Regions from separate parts of the Homo sapiens genome. Here regions 1 and 2 are each linked to region 3. Evidence: promoter capture Hi-C in 16 types of primary human blood cells and fetal thymus (Javierre and others, 2016). All regions are on one chromosome and are shown on one strand. The core of a region is centred on a gene start or on the middle of the fragment in contact, and the rest is flanking DNA. Distances in the headings are between cores, read along the strand shown. Region 1 overlaps CD300H (CD300H molecule (gene/pseudogene)). Region 2 overlaps GPRC5C (G protein-coupled receptor class C group 5 member C). Region 3 holds the start of GRIN2C (glutamate ionotropic receptor NMDA type subunit 2C).

Region 1 (2,700 bases), core at 29-2,528, 300 kb after region 3:
AGTGTGTGTGAGAGCAGGTGTGTGTGTGAGAGCAGGTGTGTGAGTGTGCATGTGAGAGTGTGTGTGAGAGCAGGCGTGTGTGAGTGAGTGGGCGTGTGAGTGTATTTGTGAAGTTGCGTGAGTGCACATGTGAGAGTGTGTGTGCAGGTGTGAGAGTGTGTGTGAGACAGAGAGTGTGTGCTGGAGGGTAGTGGTGGTGTGTGGATACACTGGCAAGGATGGGGGTTTTGGAACCTAAGCCTAACCTTCGGCATGTTGATTTTCAGCGAGATGGGGGACACCAACATGGGAGAAGGTGGTCATCCTCTGGTCTGGGTTTATAAAATGCCCACCCGGCCCCAGAGCAGGGCATCCATTGGGATGGGGTTGGGGGGATGCTCTGTTACTCCAGTCAGGCTTTGGTCTGCCTATTGGAAGACGATGGTCCTAGAACATCTGTCCAGCTGCCTCCTTGAGCGTCCTCTGCTTTATGAAGTCAGAACCATGCAGGTACCAGGTACTCAGCTGGGAAGAGTCAGGCGTAGGGCACTGAACCTCTGTTCTTTATCCTCAGCCTCCAGTACTGAGAACTCTGTGAAGACACCTGCATCTCCCACCAGGCCCAGCCAATGCCAAGGGTAAAATGCACGTGTCCCAGTGTCTTTTGCCATGTGTGCAGCTTCTTTCCTAGGGTGGGGCTTCCTAGACACAGGTTTCCTTGATTATTCACCCACTCAACATTTATTTATTTATTTATTTTTTGAGACAGAGTCTAGCTCTATCGCCGAGGCTGGACTGCAGTGGCACGATCTCGGCTCACTGCAAACTCCGCCTCCCGGGTTCACGCCATTCTCCTGCCTCAGCCTCCTGAGTAGCTGGGACTACAGGCGCCCGCCACTAGGCCCGGCTAATTTTTTTTTTTGTATTTTTAGTAGAGACGGGGGTTTCACCATGTTAGCCAGGATGGTCTCGATCTCCTGACCTCGTGATCTGCCCGCCTCGGCCTCCCAAAGTGCTGGGATTACAGGTGTGAGCCACCGTGCTCGGCCAACAGGTGTTTATTTGTTATGCGCCAGAAACTGATGGAGATTCTAGAGATGCAACAGTGAACAAAGGGGCAAGATTGTGCTCTTGAGGAAGTTGCAAATAGGTAGATTCAGGCAATGGCCAGATGGATAGATAGATAGACAGACAGACAGGTGGACAGACAGATAGATGGATAGATAGATAGATAGATAGATAGATAGATAGGTGGATAGATAGATAAACAGACAGATGATAGATATGATATGAAAGATGATAGAGATGGCTGGCTGGCTGACTGGAAAGACAGATGGAGATGATAGCTGGCAGAGAGAGATATGTAATAGAGACAGAGAGACGATAGATCAAGGAAATATGTCAACGAATGATAATTACTGTGGAGGAAAATAAAGCAGGTGTAAAGAGATAGGGTGCCAGAGTGTGTGGGAAGCTGGTGGGGCATGATTTGGGCTATCAAGGAAATACAAGATGTTCCACAGAAACAAAGAACAAAGGGACTGTCTTAGTTTGGGTTTCCCCCAAATCAGGTCCTGAGACAAGGACTTAGGAGCAATTTGTTTATTGAGAGGTAATCTCAAGAAGTACATTGAGAGAGCAGAAAGTGAGACCAGGAAAGGGGAAGGGCGGTGAAATGTGCTGTAATGAAGGGGTTATCCCCGTAGTAACTGGAGTCACTGGAGATTAACCCCTCTGGGCACCCTATGAGAGACTGTGTAGAACGTTCCTCAGAACTGGAGACAGAGTCTTCCAGGCAGCAGGCACTCCTGGGGGCATGAATTCTGTGGCCCATCTGGCCTGCTCTGCACAGGAAAATGTGTGCACTCTTGTAGATAACCTCAGGCAGAGATGGGGAGCTTGAGCTGGGAAATCCTTGGTGGGGCCAAGACTGCCTGCAGCTGCCAGGAGCTCAAGTGGGCAAAGGTGATATGGGGCAGGGCGCCAACAGGGTTTGTTACAGGGACTCGTCTTAGAGAGGATCAGGGAGGGCATCAGACAAGCCCTGCAGGTAGAGGGCTGGGAAGGTGGAGAGATGGCACAGCGGCCCATTTTGGGGAGAGAATGCAGCATCTGAGGAGTTGGAATGGGAGCAGTGTAGTGGGACCCACGGAGCGAGACGACTGGCCATGGGCTGAGCTTGGAGAGTTCACTCCTTGGGGTTGAGATTGTTAAGCCGTTTAAGCAAAAGAGCTGTTCTTGTGATCATATTTAATTTGAGTGAAGATGGTTGTAAAGGAGTATTTCATCCTTGAGGTTGTTCCCAGCAAGAGCTGAGTTCCTGCGGGCATCAGTGGCTGAGGGATCTGTTCAGGAAGTTGTTTCTGGGAGCCAGTTCCTGCCTGGGTTAACATATCTCTCTTCTTCTCTATCCCTCACCTCCGGCATCTGTTGGGTCTTGACACTCAAGGTTAATTCTGAGCTGAATGAAGGTCAGGAGCCTGTGACCCTCAGCATGGGGCTGCCTGACCCTGGTACCCACCAGGCTTGATGCTGACATTGGGTTTGAGGGCACAGGACGAGACCTCGAGGGAAGGCGGGGGAGAGGCAGAGCCTGGGACTCCCCGGAGAAGGCAGCTTACTACTAGTCACTCTCTCCGTCTCACAGGTCCCTGCCCAGCAGCACCTGCTTCCTGCTTCTCCCACTCCTGAAGGTGCCTCTGCTCCTGAGCATACTCGGTG
Region 2 (2,700 bases), core at 153-2,652, 420 kb after region 3:
AACCCAGCTTCATCAGGAACTCTCTGGGAAAACAGCAACCAAGCTTTCCTGGTCTGACAGTGACCACTAGTGGCTGGCAGGGGAATGGCATTATCTAACTCTCTTCTGTGAGGCTGCCACCCTTTTTCCTTTTTTAGGGGGATTGTGAGGTTGTTTATACATGGTTTACCTCCTTACTGTTTTCTACCATTCCTGGCTACTTAATTTCTAATAGGCAAACAAAAGCCCTAAATCCCACAGTTGATAGAAATTGTCCCTCTTTTCAACACAGAAGCAAAAAAAAAAAAAAATTCTGTCCATAATTGTTATGTGAAAGAACACTTACTAAATCAGGGGCAATGCAACTCATAAAATTAAGTGAAATGGACACAATAAAGAGGATCCATTTTCAAAGTCCCTTCAAATAGTCTCCATGCCACTTGAAAATATTTAGGTCGTCTTAGCCATCTCAGCTACCTCATCTTTCAATTAAGCTTGCTTAAGATTAACTCTTAAAATTAACTATCTCATGTAAATGTACTGTTGTTTTCCTAAATAACTGGCGTTCTAATGGCTAGTTTCTCTTTACTTCTAATGCAGGACTTAAATAAGCTTCTGTAGGGGACTTTGTAAATCAATAAAGCACCAACTGCATTTTATTTACAAGTGCTGGAAAGAGGAGTAAGAGAGGGCTAAGAGGTAAGGAGTAGGCTGGGTGCGGTGGCTCATGCTGTAATCCCAGCACTTTTGGCGGGCAGATCACGAGGTCAGGAGTTCCAGACCAGCCTGACCAACATGCTGAAACCACGTCTCTACTAAAAATACAAAAATTAGCCAGGTGTGGTGGCGTGCGCCTGTAATCCCAGCTACTCAGGAGGCTGAGGCAGAAGAATCCCTTGAACCTGGGAGGCAGAAGATTGCAGTGAGCCGAGATTGCGCCACTGCACTCCAGCCTGGGTGACGGAGCGAGACTCCATCTCAAAAACCAAAAACAACAACGACAACAACAACAACAACAAAAAAGGGAAGGCGTAATATGGACCCACTCCTGGGAGATAATTTATGGATAACAACAAGCTGTGGGATCCTAAATGTTCAACTTCATCTTGGGCTCCACAGCCAAACCAGCCAGAACTTGGGCTTGAAGCTGGACGTAGGGAAGAGAACCCTCAGAACTGCCACTTAGACTCCGGACACCTGCACTTTCAAGGGCTTTTCACCCCACCTCCCTCGGCCAGGGCCCAGTTTAGAACAGGCAATTACTCCAAATCAGCAAATATTGACTGTGCGCCTGGGAAGGAAAGGCCCTGTTGTTCCCAGAGCTGTGGAAAATACAAACATGAACAAACGTAGTCCCTGACTTGATGGCATTTAAAATCTATCAAGAGAGATAAGGTAGGTACTCACAAAAATTACACAAGGAAGAATATGATTAAGGGCCACACAACGGAATTTACCTGCAGGAGAGAGACAGGGGCTACAGGAACACAGAAGAGAAACAGGCAGAGTAGAGAAAGACTGTTCCGCAGAGTTTTACTCAGAATCTAATAAAAAAACATACCAGGTCCCAGACACTGCCAAGAGACAGGGACACCCAAAAGCTAAGCCCTGAAGAATGTGAGGAAGGACTGAGCAGGTGAAGGGAACAAGGAGAGGGACGTGCAAGGCAGAAAAGATGGTGTGAATCAAAGCCCTTTGAGCCCAAGTCCAGAGCAAGTTAAAAAAGAATTCAGTTTGCCAAGTATCAGCTGAGTCTGCAAAGGGAGGCTGCAGCTGCTGGCTGACACATTGGAAATGCTACAGGGGTGGGGCTGGGGGCATTATCCTAAAGGCAACAGGCAGCCACTGAAGGCTGCTTTTAGCATCATGGGGGCATAGCCAGGGTTGCGCTTTTAGGAAAAGAGTCTGGCAAAAATGCACAGGCAATCGATTTGTTGGGGGGCACATTCATTCCAGTTTAAAGGTCAAGGCCAAAGGTAAAGCCATAATGGCCAGCTCTGAAAGATCCTTTCCAAAAAACAATCGAAGGACTGGTTGGATGGCGGAGGTGGGGGAAAAGGATACTAAAGCCCATACTACAAGTTCAAATCTAACAGGCATGTCATTACAGAAAACCAAGCCAGGGACCAATGTCACTCATTCTTCTTGATCCATCTTGCCCTAGAAATACTTGCCTGTACCCTGCTGGCTCCAAGAAGCCCACAGGCACTTGGGCTAGGGTCAGGAAAGCTTCACAGCTCTCTGTCCCTAAGCCCCCACCTCCAGTTTCCCCCTGATTTTGTGGTTGGTGACCAGCAACTTCCTTCTGCACCTGACCCTTCAAGTCTTGCTTCTCCTGCCAACCCCCTCAATATAGAAACTTTCAAGGAATGAGAGAGGAGCCTGTACCTGCCCCTCACCGCATCCAGGTACCATGCTGCTGCCCAGCAGCCAGGCTGCTGCTTTTAGTAAGTTGCTGAGTAACTTAACAGCCTCAGAGGAAACAACCTGGTCCCATCCTGAAATATCTTATTTCTCTGGTTCCCCCAGAAATGGAAGGGCAGGTGGGAAGACAGAAATACATGGACTCAGGTGGGAAACCTGGGCTTTCTGGGCGTGGCTCTCATCCACTGCCTAGGACAGGGACCCTCAGAGAGTTAAAGAGAAGCTCAGAAGAGCACAGCTCCAGCCCTCTGATGCCGGGAGTGCACATTCAGCCAATGCCTTTTTTTTTTCTTTTTT
Region 3 (2,700 bases), core at 33-2,532:
ACGCGGGCGAAGCGTCCAAGACGTTCGTCCCCAGGGTCGCCGAGCCCTCCTCCTCCTTCGCTTGGCGCGGCAGCACCGCGGGACCAGGGGAGTCTGGGCTGCCGCGGACCCAAACTGTTGCTGCTGGAAGCCGCCGGGGCGGAGAGCGGGGAACAGGGCCGGGAGTGGGGGCCGGGGCTGGGATCCACCAGAGCGAGGGGTTGGAAAGGAGTCGAGAAGGTGAAAGGGGGCTGTGCGGCTCCCCAGCCCAGTGCCCCAGTTTCCCTAGGTCTGCTGGGCACCTGCTGCGCACTCGCCTCGGCGCCCAGACCCCTTCCCCCGCCGCGAGTCCCGCTTCTTCCCCTTCCAGCTCTGCCCCATCTCCTTTGCCCCAGCCTAGCTCTCTCCTTCCTGCGACCTGGGAGAATCGGAGTGGGCTTCCAGAGTAGTGGCATCTTGCAGATGCTGGCCCGTGCCCGGCTCCCGGGCTTCCAGAGCGCAAAGGGAAGGGTAGGCAGAGAGGGCACTGGGCGAGCAAGACCTGGCGCTGGGCCCTGGCTGCGCACCAGCCGCCTGCGCCGGTCTCTGGGGGCTTCGCCCAGGATCCCCGACGGCGGGGAGGGGAAGCCCCGAGTCTCCTGTTTCCTGCCTACGCGGGCAGGGCGGGGACACGCGGAGCAAAGGCACCCGGCAACCTGAACCCCCAGGTGCGTCCCGCGACCCTGCAAGGAGCTGCTGGGTGAGCAAGACGGGAATTCCCGCCAGGCCCTGATGCCCACCCCATTCGTCCACTCGGTTTCCCAGCCCTGGTCGTCCAAGGGGACTTCTGGCTCGGTCCCCCAGCCCTCGGATGGTGGCGTTATCTTAGTTCAGTCCCTGACCCCGGGCCACAGGAAAATCGAGGAAAGACACTTATTTGGGGAGGGTACCATTCCGCTGGCTGTATTTCAGAGCCCGTCCAGGTCTTGGCGGTGCTAGTGACTTTGAGCCTGTTTCTAAACTCCCGAAGAATAAGAGCGTGCCAGGGGCAGGTAGGCAGGTCCGGGACACCTGGGTTCGCCCAGGGCCCCCGGGCGGGCCTGGGATGGTACTGGGGCCGCCTGCCAGGCTGGCTTGGTCCCCCCACTGCGGGACTCGGGGTCACGACCCAGCTTGGGGGAGTGGGGGTGGGGGCCCCGGAGCCGCGGACGCCGGCGGGGGGCAGCGTGGGGCGGGGGGCGCCGGGTGCGTGGTGCTCAGCTTGGCCGCCAGGAGGCGTGGCGCGGGTCCCCGCCCGGAGCCGCCGCCGCCGCCGCCGCCGCCGCATCGCGAGTGTCCTTGAGCCGCGGGTGACGGTGGCTCTCGCTGCTCGCGCCCCCTCCTCCCGCGGGGGGAGCCTGATGCCACGTTCCCTATGAATTATTTATCGCCGGCCTAAAAATACCCCGAACTTCACAGCCCGAGTGTAAGAGATTGCTGCGGAGGGGAGGGGGCGGGGCGTCCCGGTGGCCAGGGGGAGTCCGGGCGGGGTCCGCGGAGACGGGGGCCGTAGCCTTGGAGGAGCAAGAACTCCGTGCCCCCAGCAGTGGGGCAAGCTAGAACGGCGGTCCTCTCCCCTGGCGCCTGGGTTCGGGTTTTGGCTGGGCAAAAGGGAGGGAGGGAAACCCGACGGCAAAGGAGGGGCGGCTCACCGGAAGGGCAGGGGGTCCGGGGGTTCTGCTGGTGGGTGGGGAGGACTCCTGCGACAGAGTTTCCTAGCCTGGGAGAGGGAGAGCCATCGGTATCTCAGATGTGAGCGGGTATGAGTGCGGGAGTGTGCATGTGTGTGCAGGTCCGTGCCAGGGGGTCTGGCTGAGCTGTGAGGACCCGGGAAGGAGAAGGCCCCCAGCCTGGGAAGGTGCTCAGACCCTTCTAGATGCTGCTGTGTCCTGCAGGACTGACCACTGCCATCCTCTCTGGGGCTCTTTGGGGATCTCTGTGTTTGTCAAACATTAGTTTAAGGGCTGTTTGTGGAAGGGGTGAGACCCTGAGTGGGTGGGTGGGCAGAGGTCTCTGAGACAATGTGTCTGCCCTCAAGGAGCCCGCAGTCCAGTGTGGGGCAGGGTGTTAATGAGTGCACACACACCTGCCGCAGGGCAGAATGGAGGGGTGGAGGGGACCACTACACAGAGCTCCCCACCCAGGAGGGGAAGCCAGGGCAGGGGGAAGAAGGGCAGGTGCCCCAGCCTGGCCGCAGTCCCTGCGCCTAGAGCCTGAGGCATCAAGGCAGGTGCCTGTGGGAGAGGGATTTCAGCTGGGCCCTGAAGGAGAGTAGACTTCTGTTGGGATGAGGACATTCCAGCCTGGGGGATGCTGGAACGAGGCCTGGAGATGAGGGCAGAATGGGGCTGTTTGGCCAGCAGACTGGCAGAGCTGTGGGTTCCAGGGATGGGAGGACGGTTGGTTGCGGTCAGGGTGCAGAGGGCTCTGTCTATGGGACTAAGCTGTCTGGACTTCATTTGTGGGCACCAGGGTGTAGCTGTCCTGTGTGAGGAGGGAGCAGTGGCTGGAGGAAGGCTTCAGCAGTGCAGTGGGGCTGGCGGGGGTGGGTAGGTGGGAGGTGGGGAGGGGGAGGCAAGGGAGGAGATTGTGGCGGGGGAAAGTGGAGTTTGTCCCTCCTACCTCTGTAGGGTGGCTGGGTTAGACGGGGTGATGAGACAGAATTCGGAAGCTCCTTGAGTCTGCCCCTTGCTATTTGGAGCC

What was found. Contacts are between HindIII fragments. The CHiCAGO score rates a contact against its expected background, and 5 or more counts as called.
Region 1: a fragment that was not itself captured here is called in contact with the fragment with the promoter of GRIN2C in region 3 in 2 of 17 cell types (naive B cells and naive CD4 T cells); the score reaches 5.4 in naive B cells.
Region 2: a contact is called between a fragment that was not itself captured here and the fragment with the promoter of GRIN2C in region 3, in 1 of 17 cell types (neutrophils). The highest score is 7.0, in neutrophils.

Annotation. Positions count from the first base shown.
Region 1 is chr17:74,560,751-74,563,450 of GRCh38, reverse strand. It overlaps CD300H (CD300H molecule (gene/pseudogene)), which reads left to right. Exons shown (of 4, transcript NM_001405511.1): 3 at 554-617; 4 at 2,627-2,700. Among named protein-coding and RNA genes, the nearest start is that of CD300H, 5.4 kb to the left of the region's middle. The HindIII fragment of the contact is 9,141 bases long and covers 1-2,700 here.
Region 2 is chr17:74,435,220-74,437,919 of GRCh38, reverse strand. All of the region lies in intron 1 of GPRC5C (G protein-coupled receptor class C group 5 member C), which reads right to left. Among named protein-coding and RNA genes, the nearest start is that of GPRC5C, 4.5 kb to the right of the region's middle. The HindIII fragment of the contact is 1,617 bases long and covers 594-2,210 here.
Region 3 is chr17:74,858,467-74,861,166 of GRCh38, reverse strand. It overlaps GRIN2C (glutamate ionotropic receptor NMDA type subunit 2C), which reads left to right and starts at 1,282. Exons shown (of 13, transcript NM_000835.6): 1 at 1,282-1,423. RefSeq lists an enhancer at 1-455. The HindIII fragment of the contact is 5,318 bases long and covers 1-2,700 here.